2 separate regions of the Homo sapiens genome follow, and region 1 is linked to region 2. Evidence: promoter capture Hi-C in human tissues and cell types (Jung and others, 2019). All regions are on one chromosome and are shown on one strand. The core of a region is centred on a gene start or on the middle of the fragment in contact, and the rest is flanking DNA. Distances in the headings are between cores, read along the strand shown. Region 1 overlaps KANSL1 (KAT8 regulatory NSL complex subunit 1). Region 2 holds the start of HEXIM2 (HEXIM P-TEFb complex subunit 2).

What was found. Contacts are between HindIII fragments. The study calls those that stand out against the background at their distance.
Region 1: a contact is called between a fragment that was not itself captured here and the fragment with the promoter of HEXIM2 in region 2, in 1 of the 25 tissues and cell types used here (dorsolateral prefrontal cortex).

What each region holds. Positions count from the first base shown.
Region 1 is chr17:46,176,346-46,182,617 of GRCh38, forward strand. All of the region lies in intron 1 of KANSL1 (KAT8 regulatory NSL complex subunit 1), which reads right to left. Among named protein-coding and RNA genes, the nearest start is that of KANSL1, 14 kb to the right of the region's middle. The HindIII fragment of the contact is 3,924 bases long and covers 915-4,838 here.
Region 2 is chr17:45,160,347-45,166,332 of GRCh38, forward strand. HEXIM2 (HEXIM P-TEFb complex subunit 2) reads left to right here and starts at 1,529. Exons shown (of 4, transcript NM_001303441.2): 1 at 1,529-1,685; 2 at 2,142-2,289; 3 at 2,404-2,513. The coding sequence starts at 2,448. It overlaps HEXIM2-AS1 (HEXIM2 antisense RNA 1), which reads right to left and starts at 1,192. Exons shown (of 3, transcript NR_186789.1): 1 at 1,115-1,192. RefSeq lists enhancers at 164-779, 780-1,395, 1,049-1,278, 1,396-2,011, 1,429-1,628 and 1 more. The HindIII fragment of the contact is 41,438 bases long and covers 1-5,986 here.

The DNA of each region.
Region 1 (6,272 bases), core at 1,627-4,126, 1.0 Mb after region 2:
TTATTCAATTCTTTAAAGCTTACAACTTTAAGAAAAAATGCCGGCTTAAATCCCATCTACTCCAGCTGGGCACAGTGGCTCACGCCTGTAATCCCAGCATTTTGGGAGGCCGAGGCAGGCGTATCACCTGAGGTCAGGAGTTCAAGACCAGCCTGGTCAACATGGTGAAACCCTGTCTCTACTAAAAATACAAAAATCAGCTGAGTGTGGCGGCGAGCGCCTGTAATCCCAGCTACCTGGGAGGCTGAGACATGAGAATCACCTGAACCCAGGCAGCAGAGGTTGCAATTAGCCAAGATTGCACCACTGCACTCCAGCCGGGGCAACAAGAGCAAGACTCCATCTTAAAAAAAAAAAAAAAAATCCCATCTACTCCAAGACTTCTCTGAAATGATGTCTATGAACTTGACATTAACATATACACTTCAAAGACAATAGTTTATTTGATTTGCACTTTATCCTTGGTCTCAATATCCCCATAGGATACACAGCATAGTGTAGTTACTAAAACAATCATCTAAGTAAGGGGGTGGGGGAGGAGAGAGAGTGCAGAGAACAGGAAAAAGTGACCACTTTTTCCGAAAAAATTCCCATTCCTAATTCCTAAATCTTGAGATTTCTATACCAAAGAAATACCATTTATTGACTTGACATACCTTTATTGACTCGAAATACTATGCTAAGATTCAACATTACTCCCAAAGATATTCATAAGTAAGAGGAGCACTGACTCAAGTGAGCAAATCTCAGTTCCCATCCTGGCTCCACCTCCTGTAGGTTACTTAACTATTCTGTTCTTTAAGTCTCCTCATCTACAAGTAACAGAGCCTTCCCGACAAGGATGCTATGATGATGAAATAAGATACTTTCAATTACTTGGCCACGTACCTGGAGCAACCACCCAGTATTATTTGCACTTTTATTACACTGGAAACAAAAAGGAAACATAGAAGGAATGAATTTCCATGGCTTTTTAATGCACCTAGTTTGCAATTAGCTACAATTGCCATAAACCACCACCTAAGTTTAGTACTTTAATCTTTTCCCTGTTATGTCTAGACTTACTTTTAATATTTCATGATGTTGTTTATAATAAAAAGAAAACTGAATGCCAAAAACTCGGTTAAATTATTAAATATCCATACAATGGAATACTGTGCAACCCTAAGTGTGGCAGAGCTATATTTACTAACATAGAAAAGTGCTTGCTTCATTATTAAATGAAAAAAAGTTACAAAACAAAACACAGTATCATCTCAATTTTGCTTTAAAAAGTCATTGGTTAAGATTCTTTTGTCTTTTGTTTCTTGGCTTATGTAAAGTCTCCACCATAAACATGTATTACTTCTATAATAAAATGGAGAGAAACAAAAAGAAAACAATGGAAATTCTTAAAGAGCCAATAACTAAGTAAAACAAAATCACAGTAACATTCTTTTTTTTTTTTTAAGAGATGGAGTCTCGCTCTGTCACCCAGGCTGGAGAGCAGTGGCGTGATCTAAGCTCACTGCAAGCTCCACCTCCCGGGTTCACGCCATTCTCCTGCCTCAGCCTCCCCAGTAGCTGGAACTACAGGCGTCCGCCACCACGCCCAGCTAGTTTTTTGTATTTTTAGTAGAGACAGGGTTTCACCATGTTAGCCAGGATGGTCTCCATCTCCTGACCTCGTGATCTGCCCACCTTGGCCTCCCAAAGTGCTGGGATTACAGGCATGAGCCACCACGCCCGGCCCATAGTAACATTCTTAAATTTAATATACAGAGCAAAACAATGATTCCTATCCCACTTGACCCCTACAAAATTCAAAAAGCTTCAATCTTTGACAATGTAAAGCAGGGAAAGACTGTCAAATTTAAGCAGTTCTTAGAGAAGCTCAGGGCTAAAGGAAAAAAAAACGAAAAACAAAAAAAGGAAGCAGTTCTACACAAACAGCACAACAGCCTATCTGATAAATCATCTTTCTCCAAAGAATACAAAGCCTTAAAAGCTATAATTAACTGATTAATCCTCATAACAACCTGGGCAGTAGAATTAGGGCTGAGATTATAATTTCTAATTTACCGGTGGGGATAAAGTCAGACTGTACATTCAGAATAAAAATTCAAGCCCCAAATATCCCAATTTTTAGTTCATTCAGTTAGTAAACTATAATCTGACAAATACAGATGGAGCTGCTACACCTGCTGTCACTCACACAAATTGAGATTCTGCAGTAAGCTTGTACAGATAAAAGAAAAGGCTACCTATTCAAGGTCATTTAGCTATAAAAGGTTGGGCTAGATAATCAATAGTTTCTCTCTCAGTTTCAAAGAAGTATTTTAGGGTCTGGAAGATGTTAAATGCACTCAGCAAGCAAATACATTTCGGAAAAACTTCCCAGATGGAGACTCACAACGTATTGCATCATACTGAATATGCAAATGTTTACCTTTACCAAACTTTTTTAACAAGCACCTTTTTCCATTACATCTATTAATATCAAGCAGAAACATCATTGTGAGAAATACAAGTTGGGATAAAGTTCAAATATGTGACCTCTAGGGTCCCTTCCTATGTTAATTCTATTATTCTAAATTGCACCATCGGTCCAAGGACAAACTTCTACCTAACACAAGTGGCACTTGGGAAGCAAAAATATACTTCTAGGATAGAGTTTCTCAACCTAACCACTAACTGACATCTCACGATGAGTAATCTATCACAGGGGGCTATCCTGGCAGTAGCATGTTTAGCAACATCTCTGTTTTCCACCCACTAGATGCTAGTAGTGCCCTTCTGAAAATTATGACAATCAAAAATGTCTCCAGACATGTCAAATATGGGAGCTGGGGGGTTCAACATCACACCTCCCAACAGAGAACCATATCCTAAAGATTATACACACACATATATATACTCTTTCAAAAGCAAAACGTATCCAGCTGCTTCAAATACTGTAAGTCAGAACTAACTCCACACCCACAAATGAAAACCTCATTTATTCCCAGTCAATTTCCAAGACAAGACTCCAGATACACAAGAATAACCTGGAAGCATCCACCTTGCAAAAATATTTAGCTGCAGAGAACAAAGGGGAAGGAATAGGTCATCCAGGTGGCCAACAAGTATTACAACCACACTTGCACTGAAAGCAAAAGCAAAAATCAGATGGGGAAGAAAAGTTTGCCCATAATGTGGCTTCTACTAACCTCTTCCTTCACCATTACCTCATTTCTCTACACAAAGGACGGAAAGAAACAGCAGGAAGGATGATTAGGGAAGTGTCCATGAAGTTGCCGCAATTTTAGCTGAGACTTGAAAATTAGCTAAAATGTCATTATGCAAAAGGCTAGGACAAGAGAATGGTAATGTGGCATTCTAGTGAGAGGAAATGGCATAAGAAAAGGCAACGCTGTGTGGGAAAAGGCGACATTCTGAAGGTTAAAAGAAATGAACAATTTGGGCCGGGCGCAGTGACTCATGCCTATAATCCCAGGACTTTGGGAGGCTGAGGCGGGTAGATCACCTGAGATCAGGAGACCAGCCTGGCCAACATGGCGAAACCCCATCTCTACTAAAATTACCAAAAATTAGCCGGGTGTGGAGGCGCGCACCTGTACTCCCAGCTACTTGGAAGACTGAGACAGGATAATTGCTTGAACCCAGGAGGCAGAGGTTGCAGTGAGCTGAGATCGGGCCACTGCACTCCAGCTTGGGTAACAAGAGCGAGACTCCATCTTAAAAAAAAAAAAAAATTAACAATTTGCTTAAAACACAAAGCATATTTTAATAGAGGAAATAGTAGAATGAAGGTGGAAAGGCAGTTTGAAGCCAGATCCTTAACGGACAGCCTTTAATAGCCTTAATTCAGACTTAAAGACAGTAGAGGGGCCAGGCACAGTGGCTCACGCCTGCAATCCCCGCACTTTGGGAGGCTGAGGCGGGTGGATCACCTGAGGTCAGGAGTTTGAAACCAGCCTGGCCAACGTGGTGAAAACCCGCCTCTAATAAAAATACAAAAAAATCAGCTGGGTGTGGTGGCGGGCACCTGTAATCCCAGCTGCTCGGGAAGCTGTGGTAGGAGAATCGCTGAAACCTGAGCGGCAGAGGTTGCAGTGAGCCGAGATCGCACCATTGCACTCCAGCCTGGGTGACAAAAGTGAGACTCCATCTCAAAAAAAGAAATAAATAATAAAAATAAAAATAAAAAATTTAGCCGGGCATGATGGCAGGTGCCTGTAGTCCCAGCTACTAGGGAGGCTGAGGCATGAGAATCACTTGAACCCAGGAGGCAGAGGCTGCAATGAGCTAAGATTGAGCCACTGCATTTCAGCCAGGGCGACAAAGAGAGGCTCTGTCTCAAAAACAAAAACAAACAAACAAAGACAGCAGAGGCCAGGTGCAGCGGCTCAGACATGTAATCCCAGCACTCTGGGAGGCCAAGGCAAAAGGATTGCTTGAGGCCAGGAGTTTGAGACCAGCCTGGTCAACATAGCGAGATCGAGTCTCTGAAAAATAAAAAGTATATACATATATATATACACACACATATATATGTATATGTATATATAAAATAATGACAGCAGAGTATCATTAAACACTTTTTAAATGGGAGTGAAACATCAGACTGTGCTTTAGAGAGATCAGTTGGGTAGGATGGATTGAAAGTAAGTAAAAAGGCATCTATAGATGGCAAAGACCAATAAAAAAGCTACCACAATAATCCAGATAGGATGCAATGAGAACTTCAACCAGAAAATAATAGTCAAAGTCTCTACCAAAGCTTAAATCCAGAAATGTGAAGGGGCCAGTCTAACAAAAAGGCCAAATATATGACAAACAAAAACATGATGGCTTATAAAGAATGGAAAGAAAGCTCTCTTTTCCTTCATAATTTCATCTCCTTTGTGACGAAATCCTTCTTTTCTCACGAAGCTTTTCAGGTTTGGTATGTCCTCTCTATACTTCTAACACTATCAGTCTAGCCCAGGTCCTCATCAGCTCCTGTCTAGATTATCACAACAGCTTCCTGACTAGTGCCTCAGTGCCCCAAACTATCCTTTACCTTTTTATCATCTCACTTTCCTACTCTGAACAAGTTCCTCACACTTTTTTTTTTTTTGAGACAAAGTCTCGCTCTTGTCCCCCAGGCTGGAGTGCGATGGCGCGATCTCCGCTCACTGCAACCTCCGCCTCCCAGGTTCAAACGATTCTCCTACCACAACCTCCCGAGCAGCTGGGATTACCGGTGCCTGCCACCACAGCCAGCTAATTTTTTTGTAATTTTAGTAGAGATGGGGTTTCACCACGTTGGCCAGGCTGGTTTCGAACTCCTGACCTCAGGTGATCGACCCGCCTCGGCCTCCCAAAGTGCTGGAATTACAGGCATGAGCCACCACACCCAGCCCCTCACACCTTTTTAATGAGTTCAAATTCTTCAAGATGAAACTTAACGTCAGGGCAAGCACATCAATTGATACGGACCCAGAACTCCCCACAGATTCCCAACTCCGTATCTTTGCCTATGTTGCTACCTCTACCTGGAAGGTCCTTCTTCTACTTTTTTTTTTTGTCCCCAAACTTACTAATTTTTCAATACATAGCATCTCCACAAAAACTTCTTAGACTCTTCCAATTCATATCACTTTCTTCCTGCTTGAATTGTATAATGCACTTAAAGTCACTGTCATTCAGTTCAAATTATCTGAATTTTCCCTAATTGTTAACTAATTCTATTTCCAAGACAAGCAAAATTCCTTAACAGCACCCTTCTTTAGCGTGCTAACTTTATCGAGAGCTTGGTACATAGTAAGTGCTGTAAGCCCTAAATGACTGGACTAGAGAAGTCAAAAAGGCCTCGTGGGGGTTGCCCTCAAGTGTAAGATTTTACTAAGAAGAGAAAAAGGAGGAAACACGAATCAAAAAATTGACACAATCAAAATAATGGGAAAGACGTGGGGCATGATCCACAAAACAACTTGCATGAATCAGGTGGTATATGTACAGCTTCTCAAGAGAAAGAGAGGAAAAGAACAGTGATTTGTGATGAAGTACTGCAAGCTACATTATGGAATGCACTGCAAAGTATTTATTTTACATATGAACAAAAGTAGATTTGTTGTGGAATACAATGGGGAAGGAGAGACAAAATTTTTACTATAAAACAAAGAGATAATGTGTGTCACCCACAAGACCATTATCAATTTCCTTGGCCAACAGGGCTTCTTAACTGAAAAAGCTTTATATTACTAAAGGAATCATTCCTGAGTGCAGGATAGGTTATTACAAATGTT
Region 2 (5,986 bases), core at 279-2,778:
ATTGAGGTTACCTAGTAACAATGCACCAGTAGAACACAAAATACTCTGACTTTGTTTAGTCTGTGGGAAAAGAAAAATCTTTAAACTGGAAAGATTTTGTAGTCTTACAAAGATTACATTGGAATTGGAATTACTGTAGTTCGTTTTTCCCTCTAGGAGGGCAGCCATTTCTCTAAAAGTTGTGTAAAAGTTAAGACTAGGATTTCAAAATGCAAGCAGATGTTGATGAAGCATACGAAATGGGCAACTCCGTTTCTATTTCGGAGCCGCAGCGACTCCGACTTTGTGCCCCAACCCTGTAAAGGGCAAAACCTCATCCCTTCGGTGTAAACTTTCAAGAGAAGTGGGGCAGCACACTTTAGGCGTTTCACCAAGAGGCTGGCGACATGCTAGGTCAGGTTGTCCGGAGAATCGGGGCTGAATGGGAGAGATCTTGAGGGCAAGAGCCTCAGAGACCTTCAGGCACCGAGCTCGTGAAGGTTTCCAAGTGCCCCTCTCTAGCTGCTCCCAGGGGGAATTAGTGGTTGCTACAGTAGTTTAAGAGGGTCGTGGTTTTTCGCAACCCGGGCGGCGAGATGGCGCTTTGGTGTAAGCGAGGTAAGGTGGGTGCACTGGGATCTCCGCTCTCGGAGCCTCCAGCTGACTGCCACGCCGACTTGTGGCCAGACCTGCGACCTCCGCCCTCCCCCGCGGCGCCAGCCTCTGGAATCTGGCGTCGCCCCCACCTCTCCAGTCGAAGTGGGAGTCCCTCTGTGCGGGGCCTCGCCGCCATACCCAGGCCGAATGGGGGTGGGGAGGGAAGCTGGCAGAGCTCGGCCTCAGGATCCGCGCCCCTGTGGAAAGACCGCAGAGGGAAGCCGTTTCACCAGCCTCTCCCCTTCTGGGGTCTCGGGAAACACGCGGTAATTACCGAAGAACCCCGCACTCTGTGAGAGGCGAGGCTGCGGGGCTGCCGGGACGGTTTGAGGACCGGGCTCGGCCGAGGAGACTCCAACCTTCACCCTCCCTGGCCCCCGGTCCCACTTCCCGCCGTCTCCCGGCGCCGCCACTTCAGGTAGCCCACTCGGCCCGGCCTCTCCCCGCGCCCGGACCACCCCCCACGGGGTGCTCTCACTGCGCAGCGAGTCCCTCCGCTGCCTCCTCCCAGCCCAAAATGGCGGCGATGGCCGCCGAGCTTCTCGTCGCCTTCCTCAAAGGCCAAGGATCCCTCCGCGCCTGCTGCCCCGCCCACCTTAGCCGGATCTATTTTCTGCCCCGTAAAGATTAACGCCATCAATGAACTCTTTAATTGAGTTCGGAGAAGGCGGGTCCAGTTGTGCCTCCTCACAGCTAATCGTTGCCAAAAAAGCGAGAATATTGGCAGAAGGCTTGACCAATCAAAGAAGGCAGTGATGCGCGCGCGGTCTGCCCCCGCGCAAGGGTAGATGGGTTTTGGAGTCTCGGGTGTGGCTGTTGACGTTACAGGCCCTTGGATCGCTTTTCAGGCCAGAAGAACTACAATCCCCAGCAGGCACCGCGCGTCCAGGCTCTCTCTTCCCCCCCATCTTAGTGGCCTGAGCGGCTTGACCAGAGCTGCTGCAACTGCAGCAAGAGGTAGGGCTCAGGCGTTGGGAATTGCACCGACAGGCAGTCGCACAGAAAGGCACACAGATGTAGTGGTGTGCATAGCCCTTGACAGCGAATAGGTCAGTTCCACCTTTGCAAAACCTCTTTCCATGACTGTCTCCCTTCTTCCAAGAAATCCATCCTTATCCTAGTTGGGTTTCCCTCCCAGCTGCATGTAGTGCAAAGACCTCTTTCCCCTTTTCTCCTGTTTCCCTTTCTGAGAGGAAGGAGGGAGGCAGGCCAGGACCTTAGAGGAAAAGTCCTCAGCACTAGGCTGGCCCAGGTCCCAGCTGTGCTTCTGGCCTTTGGAGCCCAGCTTGGGGAGAAGGTTGGGGGTGCAGGGCTGCATCAAGATTGGGGCCACTGGAGACAGTGGGGAAGGACTCGTGAGCTTGCTCCATGTTCTCCCGTGGCAGCAGCAGCCCCGCTGCACTCCCAGCCTCCCCAGGCAGTCCTCCTTTGCCCCTTTGGTGGTTGGGGAAACAAAACTTACACCTGGCTTCCTGGCTGCCAACCTGGGCCTCGGTGACTTCCAGGAGGACAGTACAGGACATGAGTCCTGGTGAGGGACCCGAGGAGCAGGACAGAGAAGACGGCCCCTGAATCCCATTTGGCCCCTTGCTGGCTGGAGGTGTGAAAACCAGCGGTGGAGGCAGCCTTCGGGGCCTGCATTTGAGAATAAGGGTATGAAGGGCTGGGGTACAAAATGGCTGCCACTGCCTGGGCAAACAATTCTGGGCAGCCAGAGTATTCCTGACGTTCCTTCAGGATTTAGGTTTCTGTTGTTGTTCAAAGCAGGTGTCACTAGTTCCAGGCGTCTGCTGAAAGATTTGGAACAGAAGATGATGGCCACTCCGAACCAGACCGCCTGTAATGCAGAGTCACCAGTGGCCCTGGAGGAGGCCAAGGTAAGTCCCTGCCCTCCTGCCCACCCAAGCACCACGAGCACGGGTCCCACAGCTGAGATCCAAACTTCTTGTCCCAGATGTGTTGGTAGATTTGGAAAACCAGTATTTTGACGAATCAGTACTATGCACTAGGCAATAGGCCGGAATCCCAGTCTATGCTAGCTGATGAAATCTTAGTAACTGGCCGGGTGCGGTGGCTCACACCTGTAATCCCAGCACTTTGGGAGGCCTAGGTGGGTGGATCACCTGAGGTCAGGAGTTCGAGACCAGCCTGACCAACATGGCAAAACCCTGGCTGTACTGAAAATGCAAAATTAGCCTGGCATAGTGGTGGCGCATGCCTGTGATCCCAGCTACTTGGGAGGTTGAGGCAGGAGAATCGCTTGAACCCAGGGGTCGGAGGTTGCAGTGAGCCAAGATCTCGCAATTGCACTCCAGCCTGGGCGTCAGAGCGAGACTCCGTCTCAAAAAAAAAAAAAAAAAAAAAAAATCCTAGTAACCCTTTCAGGTAGGAATTATTTCCAATTCCCAGAAGCTAAGGTTCTGAGACCTGAAATACCTGTTCCAGAATCATGCTATCTACAAGCAACAGACCCAGGGTTTAAACTTAGGGCCTTCTGACAACAGAACATTGCCTTGACCTCAAGTCCAAAGAGGGCATGGAGGGACTGGGTTGAATGTTTACATTTTGTCCAGGCTAAGAACCAAGTCTGAAGCAGGAAGAAGAGTTTTTGGTTCATAATTTGGAATGGACCCAGGCAGGCAATTCACTTGAGACCAGAAGTTCAAGACCAGCCTGGCCAACATGGTGAAACCTCATCTCTACTAAAAATACAAAAATTAGCTGGGCATGGTGGCACATGCCTGTAATACCAGCTACTCAGGAGGCTGATGCACCAGAATCACTTGAACCCAGGATGCAGAGGTTGCAGTGAGCTGAGATCACACCACTGCACTTTAGCCTGGGCGACAGAGTGACACTCCATCTCAAAAAAGAAACAAAAACAAAAACAGGCCAGGCGCAGTGGCTCACGCCTGTAATCCTAGCACTTTTGGAGGCTGAGGTGGGTGGATCACCTGAGGTCAAGAGTTCAAGACCAGCCTGGCCAACATGGTGAAACTCTGTCTCTACTAAAAATACAAAAATTAGATGGGCGTAATGACAGGCGGCTGTAATCCCAGCGACTCAGGAGGCTGAAGCAGGAGAATCACTTGAACCCATGAGGCAGAAGTTGCAGTGAGCTGAGATTGTGCCATTGCACTCCAGCTTGGGCAACAAGAACAAAACTCTCTCAAAAAAAAAAAAATGCTGGAAGCCGGGTGCAGTGGCTCACGCCTGTAATCCCAGCACTTTGGGAGGCCGAGGTGGGCGGATCACCTGAGGTCACGAGTTCGAGACCAGCCTGACCAACATGGAGAAACCCCATCTCTACTAAAAATACAAAATTAGCCAGGCGTGGTGGCACATTTCTATAATCCCAGCTAGTTGGGAGGCTGAGGCAGGAGAATCGCTTGAAACTGGGAGGCGGAGTTTGCAGTGAACTGAGATCACGCCCCTGCACTCCAGCCTGGGCAACAGAGCGAGACTCCGTCTCAAAAAAAAACCAAAAAAACAAAAAAACCTGAAATTAGCCCGGCGTGGTGGTGCATGCCTGTAATCCCAGCTGCTTGGGAGGCTGAGGCATGATAATCACTTGAACCCAGGAGGCAGAGGTTGCACTGAGCTGAGATCATGCCACTGCACTCCAGCCTGGGTGACAAAGTCAGACTTTCTCAAAAATAATAATAATTTGTAATGGAGGTGGGGGTAGGATATAACCCACGAAAGAGGAGAGAGAAAGATCATATCAGGCCCTCAGAGGATGGCACTTCCCAACCTGGCAACAGGAACCCATGCTTGTTCGGCCCATGTTCTCTCAGTACCTGCCCTTACCCATTCTTCCTTAGTCCACGACTCCCTATAGATGAGCAGGGGGCTTAGGACAGAGGTCAGAGAGCTTCTGACCCACCCTGCCTAGCCCATTCCGTGTTTTCTGGATTGACTGAATTCGGAATTCATGACATGTCAGGGCTACAATGTTCAGCCAGGTCACACAGCTTATCTACAGTAGTGGTCATGGTGGTAGAGGGCCAAGTCTTCAGGAGGGAGGCAGCAGGTAGGGCTAGGGGGCTGGGCTCGCTTGGGTGAGGGTGGAGGATCAATAGGGCACTTCTACTGAGGGCTGGGAGCATGTGACTGATTGTGCACACCAACAAGCCACCATGCCTTGGCATCCCAGTGGCCTTGCCTGTCCCAGCTGGGGCAACAGCTCTGTCTTATTTGGCCCAAGCCACTGGTGGAGACAAGGGCTATTGCTTTTATTTCGTGATCTCCCTGCAGGTGAAGTAACACAACAAACTCCACATACGTACACACCCCACACACATACACACCCTGACATACCTCCTTTTCCCTGAAATTCTCTTCGGGGTCTGCAAAACACACATGACATATGCCTGGCTCTTAAGGGCCGCGCATACACCACATTCCTCAGTACACACCCTGTGTGCATGGACCACGCTCACATGTCTCTGAACTGCGTTGCATATTATTCAACAACATACCAGTGGTAGTGGTTATTATTAGAAATTGCCCAAACCACAAACTTAGAGCAATTCATTTCCCATCTCCCACACCCAGTACTCCCACCCTTCCCACAACAGAGATAAACAGATGCCCTGAACATACACTCTCTTGACAGCCTTTATACCTCTTAGATAAGTTCTGGAACTCTCTCACTGCAGACTGGAGGCTGACCCTCCCTCTCTTTGGAGAGGATCTCTTTCCTGCCATTCATATTGGAGAGTGATACCACCTACCAACTTCTGCCTGGAATAAATATGTTCCATCATTTTATTTTATTTTATTTTTTAATTTAATTTAATTTAATTTAATTATTTTATTTTATTTTTTGAGCCAGAGTCTTACTCTGTTGCCCAGGCTGGAGTGCAGTGGCGTGATCTCGCCTCACTGCAACCTCCGCCTCCCAGGTTCAAGCGATTCTCCTACCTCAGCCTCCCAAGTAGCTGGGATTACAGGTGCGTGCCACCACACCCGGCCAATTTTTTTGTATTTTTAGTAGAGACGGGGTTTGGCCATGTTGGTCAGGCTGGTCTCAAACTCCTGAACTCAGGTGATCTACCTGCCTTGGCCTCCCAAAGTGCTGGGATTACAGGCGTGAGCCACCACGCCCGGCCCGCTGCATCTTCTTTATGCCAGAAGGATAGAGAAGGGGAGTCTTTTTTTTGAGACTCCAGCTCTGTCACTCAGGCTGGAGCGCAGTGGCGCAATCACAGCTCACTGCAGCCTCAACCTTCTGGACTCAAGTGATCCTCCCACTTCAGCCTCCCAAGCAGCTGGGATTACAGGTGCTCACCACCATGCCTGGCTAATTTTTTGTAATTTTTGGTAGAGATGGGGTTTCGCCATGTTG